Linked DNA regions of Homo sapiens: region 1 is linked to region 2. The links are contacts of gene promoters, found by promoter capture Hi-C in blood cells and fetal thymus (Javierre and others, 2016). All regions are on one chromosome and are shown on one strand. The core of a region is centred on a gene start or on the middle of the fragment in contact, and the rest is flanking DNA. Distances in the headings are between cores, read along the strand shown.

What was found. Contacts are between HindIII fragments. The CHiCAGO score rates a contact against its expected background, and 5 or more counts as called.
Region 1: a contact is called between a fragment that was not itself captured here and the fragment with the promoter of APBA1 in region 2, in 2 of 17 cell types (M2 macrophages and erythroblasts). The highest score is 5.3, in M2 macrophages.

The regions. Positions count from the first base shown.
Region 1 is chr9:69,879,982-69,884,930 of GRCh38, forward strand. All of the region lies in intron 4 of CFAP95 (cilia and flagella associated protein 95), which reads left to right. It also overlaps the pseudogene RN7SL570P. Among named protein-coding and RNA genes, the nearest start is that of CFAP95, 62 kb to the left of the region's middle. The HindIII fragment of the contact is 1,626 bases long and covers 2,613-4,238 here.
Region 2 is chr9:69,669,558-69,674,994 of GRCh38, forward strand. APBA1 (amyloid beta precursor protein binding family A member 1) reads right to left here and starts at 2,814. Exons shown (of 13, transcript NM_001163.4): 1 at 2,596-2,814. RefSeq lists silencers at 2,582-2,661, 2,842-2,891. The HindIII fragment of the contact is 15,920 bases long and covers 1-5,437 here.

The DNA.
Region 1 (4,949 bases), core at 2,176-4,675, 210 kb after region 2:
TATTTTTTATTATTTTATGTTTAATTTTTGTGGGTACATAGTAGGTGTATGTATTTATAGAATACATGAGATTTTGGTACAGGCATGCAATGCATAATAATCACATCATGAAAAACTGGGTATCCATCCTCTCAAGCATTTATCCTTTGTGTTACAAACAATCCAATTATACTCTTTTAGTTATTTTAAAGTGTACAATTAAATTACTATTGACTATAGTCCCCACGTTGTGCTATTAAATACTAGGTCTTACTCATTCTCTCTATTATTTTTTGTACCCATTCACCATCCCACCTCCCCACTATGCCATCCCTTCCCTGCCCTGACTATCCTTCCCATCCTCTGGTAACCATCCTTCTACTCCCTATGTCCATGAGTTCAGTTGTTTTGGTTTGTAGATCCCTCAAACACGGTGAGAACATGTGATATTTGTTTTTTTTGTGCCTGGCTTATTTCACTTAACATAGTGATCTCCTGTTCTATCAATGTTGTTGCAAAAGACAGAATCTCATTCTTTTTAATGGCTGAATAGTGGTTCATTGTCTATAAGTACCACATTTTCTCTATCCATTCACCTGTTGATGAATTCTTAGGTTACTTCCAAATCTTGGCTATTGTGAACAGTGCTGCAACAAACTTGGGAGTGCAGGTATTTCTTTGATATACTGATTTCCTTTGTTTTGCATATATACCCAGCAGTGGGATTGCTGCATCATATGATAGCTCAATTGTTAGCTTTTTGAGGAACCTCCAAACTGTTCTCCATAGTGGTTGTACTAATTTACATTCTTACAACAGTATATAAGGGTTTCCTTTTCTCCACATCCTCACCAGCATTTGTTATTGCCTGTCTTGTGGATATAAGCCATTTTAACCGGCATGAGATGATATCTCATTGTAGTTTTGGTTTGCATTTCTCTAATGATCAATGATGTTGAGCACCTTTTCATATGCCTATTTGCCACTTGTATGTCTTCTTTTGAGAAATGTCTATTCAAATCTTTGGCCCATTTTTTGATAGGATTATTAGATTTTTTTTTTCCTGTAGAGTTGTTTGAGCTCTTTATATATTCTGGTAACTAATCCCTTGTCAGATGGGTAGTTTGTAAATATTTTCTCCAATTCTGTGGGTTATCCCTTCGCTTTGTTGATTGTATCCTTTGCCATGCAGAAGATTTTTAACTTGATGTGATCCCATTTGTCTACTTTTGCTTTGGCTGCCTGTGCTTGTGGAGTATTGCTCAAGAAGTCTTTGCCCAGACCAATGTCCTGGAGATTTTTCCCAATGTTTTCTTGTAGTAGTTTCATAGTTTGAGGTCACAGATTAAAGTCTTTAATCCATTTTGATTTGATTTCTGTATATGGTGAGAGATAGGGGTCTAGTTTCATTTTCTGCATATGGAAATCCAGTTTCCCCAGCACCGTTTGTTGAAGAGACTGTCTTTTCTCCAGTGTCTGTTCTTGGCACCTTTCTCAAAAATGAATTCACTGTAGGTGTGTGGATTTGTTTCTGGGTTCTGTATTCTGTTCCATTGGTCTGTGTGTCTGTTTTTATGCTAATACCATGCTGTTTTGGTTACTATAGCTTTGTAACATAATTTGAAGTCAAATAATGTGACTCTTGCAGTTTTGTTCTTTTGGCTCAGGATAGCTTTGGCTATTCTGTGTCTTTTGTTATTCCATATACATTTTAGGATTGTTTCTTCTATTTCCATAAAAGATGTCATTGGTATTTTGATAGGGGTTGCATTGAATCTGTAGATTGCTCTGGGTAATATGGACATTTTAACAATATTGAGTTTTCCAAGCCATGAACATAAAATATTTTTCCATTTTGTGGTGTTCTCTTCAATTTCTCTCATCCATGTTTTATAGTTTTCATTGTAGAGATCTTTCACTTCTTTGGTTAATTCCTAGGTATCTAATTTTATTTGTGGCTATCGTAAATGGGATTAGGTTTTTTTTAAATTTCTTTTTCAGATTGTTCCCTGTTAACATATAGAAATGCCTTTTTTTTTTTTGAGACCGTCTTGCTCTGTCACCCAGGGTGGAATGCAGTAGTGTGATCATGTCTCACTGCAACCGCTGCCTCCCAAGTTCAAGCAATTCTCCTGCCTCAGCCACCTGAATAGCTGGGATTAGAGGTGTGTGCCACCACACCTGGCTAATTTTTGTATTTTTGTAGAAGCTGGGTTTCACCATGTTGCCCAGGCTGGTCTTGAACTCCTGGCCTCAAGTGATCCACCCACCTGGCCTCCTAAAATGCTGGGGGCATGAGCCACCATGCCTGATCTGCCACTGATTTTTGTATGTTGATTTTGTGTCCTGCAACTTTACTGAATTTGTTTATCAGTATAGTTTCTTTGGTGGTCTTTAGGATTTTCTAAATATAAGATCATGTCATGTGCAAACAAGGATAATTTGACTTCTTCCTTTCCAATTTGGATGCCCTTTATTTCTTTTTTTTGTCTAATTGCTCTAGCTAAGATTTCCAGTACTATGTTGAATAACAGTGGTGAAAGTGGCCATCCTTGTTGTATTTCAGATTTTATAGGAAAGGCTTTCAGTTTTTCTGCATTCAGTATGACACTAGCTGTGGGTCTGTCATATAAAGCTTTCATTATGTTGAAGTATGTTCTTTCTATACTCAATTTTTTGAGGATGTGTATTATAAAGGGATGTTGAACTTTTATCAAATACTTTCTCTGCATCAATTGAAATGACTGTATAATTTTTATCCTTCATTCTGTTGATATGATGTATCACACTGATAGATTTGCACAGGTTGAACCATCCTTGTGTCTCTGGGATAAATCCTGCTTGGTCATGATGAATGATTTTTTTAACGTGTTGTTGAATTTGGTTTGCTAGTATTTTATTGAGGATTTGTGCATCAATATTCATTAGAGATACTGGCCTGTAGTTTTCTTTTTTTGATGTGTCTTTGTCTGGTTTTGGAATCAGGGTAATACTGGCCTCTTAGAATGAATTTGGAAGTATACCTTCTGCCTCTATATTTCAGAATAGTTGAGTAGGATTGGTATCAGTTCTTTAAATGTTTGGTAGAAATCAGCAGTGAAGCCCTCATGTCCTGGGATTTTCTTTACTGGGAGATTTTTTATCTGTGATCTCATTACTTGTTATTGGTGTAAGAGTTAAAGAAAGAGGAAAGAAACACAAAAAGTGGCTCAACAGTCAAAGACAGGTTTATTTTGGAGAATAAACCTGAGAGGGGCTTCTGGCCGATTTCCGTCAGGAGCATTCTCTCATACAGACTAAGAGTATTTAAAGGTTCAGGGCTAGAGAACTTATCATAGGCTTGGAATGTTTCTGTGTTGGGGAGAAGTTTATGTGGGGTTGGAATGACTCTGGTTGGAGGGGAGGTTATCTTGGGGCTGACATCTCTCTGGTTGGGGAGGGGTTTATCTTAAGGTTGGAATGTTTCTGGTTGGAGATGTCATTTGTGGTTTATGAACATGCTGACCTTAGCCATTAGGCTGATGCCCTTTGGATTCAGGCAGTTTTTGATGAAAGTGAACTTTAAAATGGTGGTGTTTGTCCAAGATGGCGACGCTCCTGCTCTGTCAACTACCCTGTTCAGGTTTTGGATTTCCTCATGGTTCAGTCTTGGTAGGTTGTATGTGTCTAGGAGTTTTGCCCATTTCTTCTAGATTTTCTAATTTATTGGCATATAGTTTCCTGTAGTAGCCACTAACGATCCTTTGAATTTCTGCCCTATCAGTTGTAATGTCTCCTTTTTCATCTCTGATTTTATTTATTTGGGTCTTCTCTCTTTTTGTCTTAGTCTGGCTAAAGGTTTGTCAATTTTGTTTATTTTTTTAAAAAAAAACAATTAAAAAAAAATCATTCTTTTGTATTGTTTTCTTCATTTCAAATTCATTTATTTCTACTCTGATTATTATTTCATTTCTTCTACTAATTTTGGATTCAGTTTGCTCTTGCTTTTCTAGTTCTTTAAGATGCATCAATAGGTTATTTAGGTTATTTATTTGAGGTGTTTCTTCTTTTTTGATGTAGGCACTTATAGCTATAAATTTCCCTCTTAGTACTGCTTTCACTGTATCCTTTAAGTTTTGGTATGTTGTGTTTTCATTGTCATTTGTTTTAAGGAATTTTTCAATTTCCTTCTTAATGTTTTCATTAAGCCACTGGTCACTGAGAAGTACATATTTTAATTTCCATGCATTGGTATATATTTTTATGTATTTTTACTTTCAAGCTTCTTTGAAAGTAATTTTATTTTAGATATAAAAGCAGGTAGCTGATCATTAAAAATTGTTTTTATTTTAGAGACAGGATCTCTCTCTGTCACCTGTGCTGGTGCTGCTATAGCTCATGGCAGCCTCGAACTCCTGGCTTTAAGAGATCTCTTTCCTCAGCTTCCTGAGTAGCTGGGAGTACAGGTGCAAGCTACTGAGCCAGCCAGTGTAGGAGTTTTGACCTGCTGCCTTTCTGACCTGGGCTGGTTCACCCCTCCTTAGGCAATCTGGTGGTCCTGCTCCTGGGAGGTCACCATACTGATGTTGAACTTAGTGTGGACACCCCATAGGCATACAGCACTATAGCTCAGAACTCCTGGGCTCAATTGACCCTCCTGCCTCAACCTCCTGAGTAGCTGGGACTATAGACACATGCCACCGAACATGACAAATAGGAGGTTTTTTTTTTAAATACAGTTTGATGTTCAATTTAAGTCTGAGAAAATATTTTCACGGATAGGCTTAACCCCTTTATTTTTATTATAATTGCTAAGATATTTAATTTTATTTTTATGATTTTAATTTGTTTTATGAGCAGAAATAATGTCCCCCTGTTCCTTTTATTCTCCTTTCCTGACTTCTATTAGATTTGTCTTTAAAAAAAAACCCATTTGATGGTTTGAAAGTTACATTTCTAATTTTTGTTGTTTTAATCATTAGTACTCAAAC
Region 2 (5,437 bases), core at 1,564-4,063:
ATATTGCATTTTTAAAACTATCAGCCTGGGCAGCATAGCGAGACTCTATCTCTGAAAAAAATAAACAAATATCTGGGTGTGGTGCCATGTGCCTATTGTCCCAGCTACTCAGGAGGCTGAGGCAGGAGGATTGCTTGAGCTAGGAGTTTGAGGCTGCAGTGAGCTATGATCACACTACTGCACTCCAGCCTGGGCGACAGAGGAAGATCCTGTCTCAAAAAGACAAATAAAAATAAAAATGATCACATTTACATTAGAAAAGAACTGATTCCTGAGTCATCGATTTTGCTGCTGTGTAATTCCTCTTTCTCTAAACAGGGTATTTACCTGGTAATTCCTCATATTATTAAACTTTCTTGTGAGACATTTACATCCCTGGTCTTACTTGCAAATATAAAGGATGATGACTTTTTTTTAAACCAAAATCTCTTAGAATGGCTTTTAAATTCCCTAAGTACTTTTCTCAGAAAGACATTTGGCATAACAAATAAGAGAGTAAAGAACTAAGATTCAAAATTCATTTTTATAAATCTATCCTTAAATCTTGGATGACAGCCAACAACCAACCTCACATTAAAATCTTAGAAGGCTTGACTTGAAGAACATGGGGAAATTTACTTTACATAGACAGCTTCAAGAGCACCTTGTCTATATATCATTAAATAAGATACATGGGAAGAAAAAAAAGCATATGTGGATAGCCCTAGTTTTATTATTTTCACAACGATATCATGCAATCTTTGCCCATAAAAGAAAGCAAAACAAAAATTTTAAAAAAGAAAAATAAATCTCTGGTGCCAACATGTTGTATATTTACTTGTGTAGCCATGACTGCTACGGGCTTTTCGAAGAGAACCGGGCAGCCAGTTTGGATTCCGACAATGCAGTAGAATTTAAGGTGTTATGACTAAAACATGTCCTAAGCAGATTAAGCTAGTCATACAACATTTTAATAAAGAAGTGTCGAGATATTAAGTGTAAAGTGCACTCATTCCTATGAATACCGCAGGAGAAACATAGGTGAGGGGGAATCACACTGCCCTGGATACACATGAATATGCCATCTCCCTGCCTACCTCTACCCAACCCTACCTACACACACCTATCTTTACCACGCAGAGACAATTAAACAGCCATAGACTCTGGATGCATTTCTGTGTCCTTGTTCCCACTGGGTGAGTTGTTGCCAGCCTGACATTTTTCCAAATTCCCTACTAGTGGGCTCTATCAGGTAGGAAAGCAGGGACTTTACTGACCTGGGACCCCATCGCTGTGGGTCTCAGGAGATTTCAGTTTCCAAATGATACACGGCACCACCTAGCTATTGTGACAGCTGGGAGAGTGGATGTCACCAGCAGTAGAAATAAAGTATCCTGTTTCCTGAGGAAAACGCCCTGGCTGTGTGATGCTGACCAAGTGGGCACCAAACATTTCTCCGTGTGATATTTTTCTTCTTTTTAAAAGACCGCCCCCCGCCCCACCGCATCTCTCTATACGTATACACCTCCAGAGTTCATTCTAAAAGAACCAACACAAAGACCATCCATCCTCTAGCCATAAGGTTTTCAGTGCTTAAATGTGGAAGGAGAAGGTCTAGCTAGCATTGAAAGTTGTGGGGACAGGAAGAGGAATCTGATCATTCAACATCCTTCTCCTTCTGGTCAGACAAGAGAAAAACAATAGAAACTGCACAGTCAGGGAGTACAAGACCCTTATGGAACAGGTGCTAAGGAGAGAAGTAGTATCACAGGATGGAAGGCCCCTTCAAAACCAGGTACATTAGCAAGCCCAGAATGTGTAACGGTTATCCTATTTCCCTGCCATGTGCCTCAAAGCAACATGCTCACTTCCACATCCCCATGTCATGAGGCCAGAGGAAGGGGAAGCGAGAATCCCTACACTGGGCCATCCACACGCAGGAGCAGAACAGACACTGTGCTCAGAGTTGCAGGGTCAAAATAACAAACACTGTCCCACAGTCTTAGCCGGTGACATCAAGTAAGGGCAGCGGCAGATCTCTGGATTTGGGGCGCAGTTTGGGGAACGTGGATGCAACCACACGCGTACACACACATATACAGGATTTTACAAACCGGCCCCTATCCCACTGCCTCCCTCCACACTTCACACACCAAGTGCATCCTGCCCACCTCACCGTTTCCATCATCACATTCTTTCTCCAGGAGAGTCAGCCGAGAGATGAGGGGGTCCTAGCGGGGATTCCTGGAAATGTCACCCCCCAACACCTCCGTCCGCCACCCCATCCCCTCTGCTGTACCTTTTACACACACACTCTCACACACTCACTCCTGCCATGACTGTCATCAGGCCCGCCTGCTGCGCCCGAAGCCCGGCATCTCAGCGGGCACCGGACCCCAGGCGTCTCGCTCGCAACGCCGCCTTCCCCCGCCTCGCTAGCTGATGGTTCCAGGCACTGCCTCCTGGATGTCGCCTGCTGCCTCCGCTCCTCCGCACTATTGTTCCAGGCAGCCCCTCTCGCGTCCGGGGGCGCCCTTTGGCGAGGACCCGGGCTCCGTCGGGGGCCGCATCAGCGCCGGGCACCCCTTCTCACCCACCCCTCCCTGGCTGTGGTACCTTGCCTGACAGCTGGGTCCGCGGGCCCGCGGGAGCAGGCGGCGCTAGTGACAGCGCTGGTGCCAAGCCTGGGAATAAAGCTCCGCTCCAGCCGCTGCTGCCTCCAGCGCCACCATCTTCTCCCGCCGCAGCTGCCGCCGCCGCCGCCGCCGCCGGGACCGCAGCCGCCCTCGCCCAGCTCCGGCTCCGCAGCCGCTGCTCGGACCCCTCCGGTCTCGCGGCCCCACCCCCTTTCCCCACCCTCCCTCCCGCCCTCCAGCTAGCTCGCTGGCCCCTCGTGACGCGCGCTGGGGCCGGGCGGGCCTGCGAGGGAGGGCGCGGGGGAGCGCGCGCGCGCACGCCGCCTGCTAGTAGCGCCCCTGCCTCCCTCGCCCACTCGCGTGCGCGCGCGGCCCGCGAGCCCGCGGCGGCGGCGGCGGCACCGCTGATGTCCTCCGTGGGCCGCCGGCTGCAGCGCCCCTGCCCCGGCGCCGGTGGGCGTGCGGCACACCCGCGCCTCTCGCCTTCCCTCGCGTCCGGGTTCCGAAGGGCCCGCCCTGCCTTTCGGAATGGGTTCCACAGCCCCATCCTCTGGCTCCCGGCCGGACGCAAGGAGGGGAAAATGCAGCTGCATCCCCGAGGGGACTGACGGGGGCCTCCACCCTCCTCGGTGGCAACCCAGGTGGTCCCCAGTTTCCTAGCCAGCAGCTGTGGCCAACCTCTGCGCGAAGCAACGGGCCACGCTGCAGGACCACGAAGCCAGGCAGCCGCGTCGACTCCTGCAGGGTGTTCTCTCCGGAGTGACTCCCGAGCTTTCCCGCTTCCCAGGCCCCTTAGATATCGCCTGCGCTTCAAATTCGGAGATTGACGGCGTCTCCGGAATGCGTCGCAGTCCTGCGAGTTCTCCGCCAGGGGGAGAGCCGCGCGGGCTTGGGCCTGAGCGAAGACAGCCGGGCTGCAGCCCTCCAGGGGAACTGCCGAGTCCCGCCGGGGACAGCGGAGAGCCTGCGGATTGTGAAGCCGAGGAAGGCTCGGCTTGGTTTTCCTACCCGCTCCTCAGTTCTGGTTGATCGGAACTTAAGTGTCTTTGAGCCTAGCACAGGCCATCCGCCCTAGATATGGCTCCTAACTCGAGAGGCCACCCTTTGCGGCAGGGACCAGGTGGCAAGTGCTGTGCATTAATGAAAAGCTGTGGGCTAGACAGGCCCCGGGAGGCCTGGGCTCTGGCGCCAGCCCCACCTGTAATTGGCAATGCAATAGCTAAATCATTCCCCCTCTTAGAAACACAGATTTTTCCATAATAATGTTATAATGCACAAAGCCTTGTAGTTTGCAAAGCCCTCTCCGCACATGTATTCTCCAGTAAAATGAAGATAAGCGCTGGTTATCCAGATCCCTTGGGAAATGGATCTTTTACCACACCGTGTTTCCATATTATTTTAAGCACGTCTCTAGAGAAGTCTGGGGGTGTAGCCTAAAGCATTCTGAAAGTCTTGTTTTAGCTTTAAAATTCATATGAATTTTGCATTGTACTTTGTAATTTTTTTTTGCTTTAATAAAACAATAGCTACCTTCTCAAAAAGATTTTAGTAAAATTTAAAATTATATACTAGGAAGATGTCTGCTTGTCCTGTGACATTACTCATATTTTTTCCGGTGAATACTTATTTGGCATATGTACGAGCCAGACATGGTCCTTTTCCACCAGAGCTCACAGTACGCTGAAGGAAATAGGTATTCAACTATCAGACTGGCCAGGCGCGGTGGCTCACGCCTGTAATCCCAGCACTTTGGGAGGCTGAGTCCAGCAGATCACTTTAGGCCAAAAGTTTGAGATCAGCCTGGTCAACATGGCGAAACCCTGTCTCTACTAAAAACACAAAAATTAGCCGGGCGTGTTGGTGCACGCCTGTAATCCTAGCTACTCGGGAAGCTGAGGCACGAGAATGCTTGAACCGGGAGGCGGAGGTTGCAGTGAGCCGAGATCGCGCTACTGCACTCCAGCCTTGGTGTCTCAAAAAACAAACAAACAAATAAAACAATCAGACTAAGTGCAACTGTGATAAATTCTCAACTGCAAAGGCGCTAAGGTGCACGGGAAAACCTAATGTGGACTCTGGGACTAGGTAAGGCTTTCTAAGGAAATGACATTTCAGATCCCCCAGGAGAGGCAGCATTGAGACACTTCCAGGTAAAGGGAAGGAAATGTGAAAAGGCCCAAGCAGGTGGGGCCGAAGTGAGATGAGACTGGAGAGGCAGGCAGACTTTGTGGACCGTTTTTAAATAATGATTTTGTCTTATGAGCCTGGAAAGTCAATGAAGGGTTGCCAAGAGTTGGGAGCAGGCAAGCAGGATCACATTTCCGTTCCTGAAAGATGGCTGAGGTGGTTTGTGAGGAACTGATTCGTGGAGGGTCAGGATCCAGGGCGGAGAGAGTCTGAGCTTATCCTACTTAGTGAGTGTTTAGGGTTTTCTGTTTTTGCACTAACTGCTCTTTTGATTGTTTTTAGTTCTTGCCTCTGCTCTCCTGTGTACGCATCTAGGAGGCTTTCAGAGTGCTTCTCTGTAATAGTTTCTGTTTTGTTACTTTTAATCCACTGCAGTTTTAGGAAGGAAATGAACCCTGTTAGAATTTCAGGTTAAATAAGAGAATATAGGTTCTGAGTGAGAGGCTCTTTTCTGTGCATACACTTATTGCCATTTGGTTTGCTATCTCAGAGATCTTTCTGCTTATTTTCTACTTTTTGTGTTGCCTTTCCAGTTAGACTAGGTTCTTAGATGCATGAATAAGGGTTACATTATTGCTTTAATAATATCCTGGAATCTTACCTCGCAGGATTTTTGTGTAAAGAAAGTTATGTGA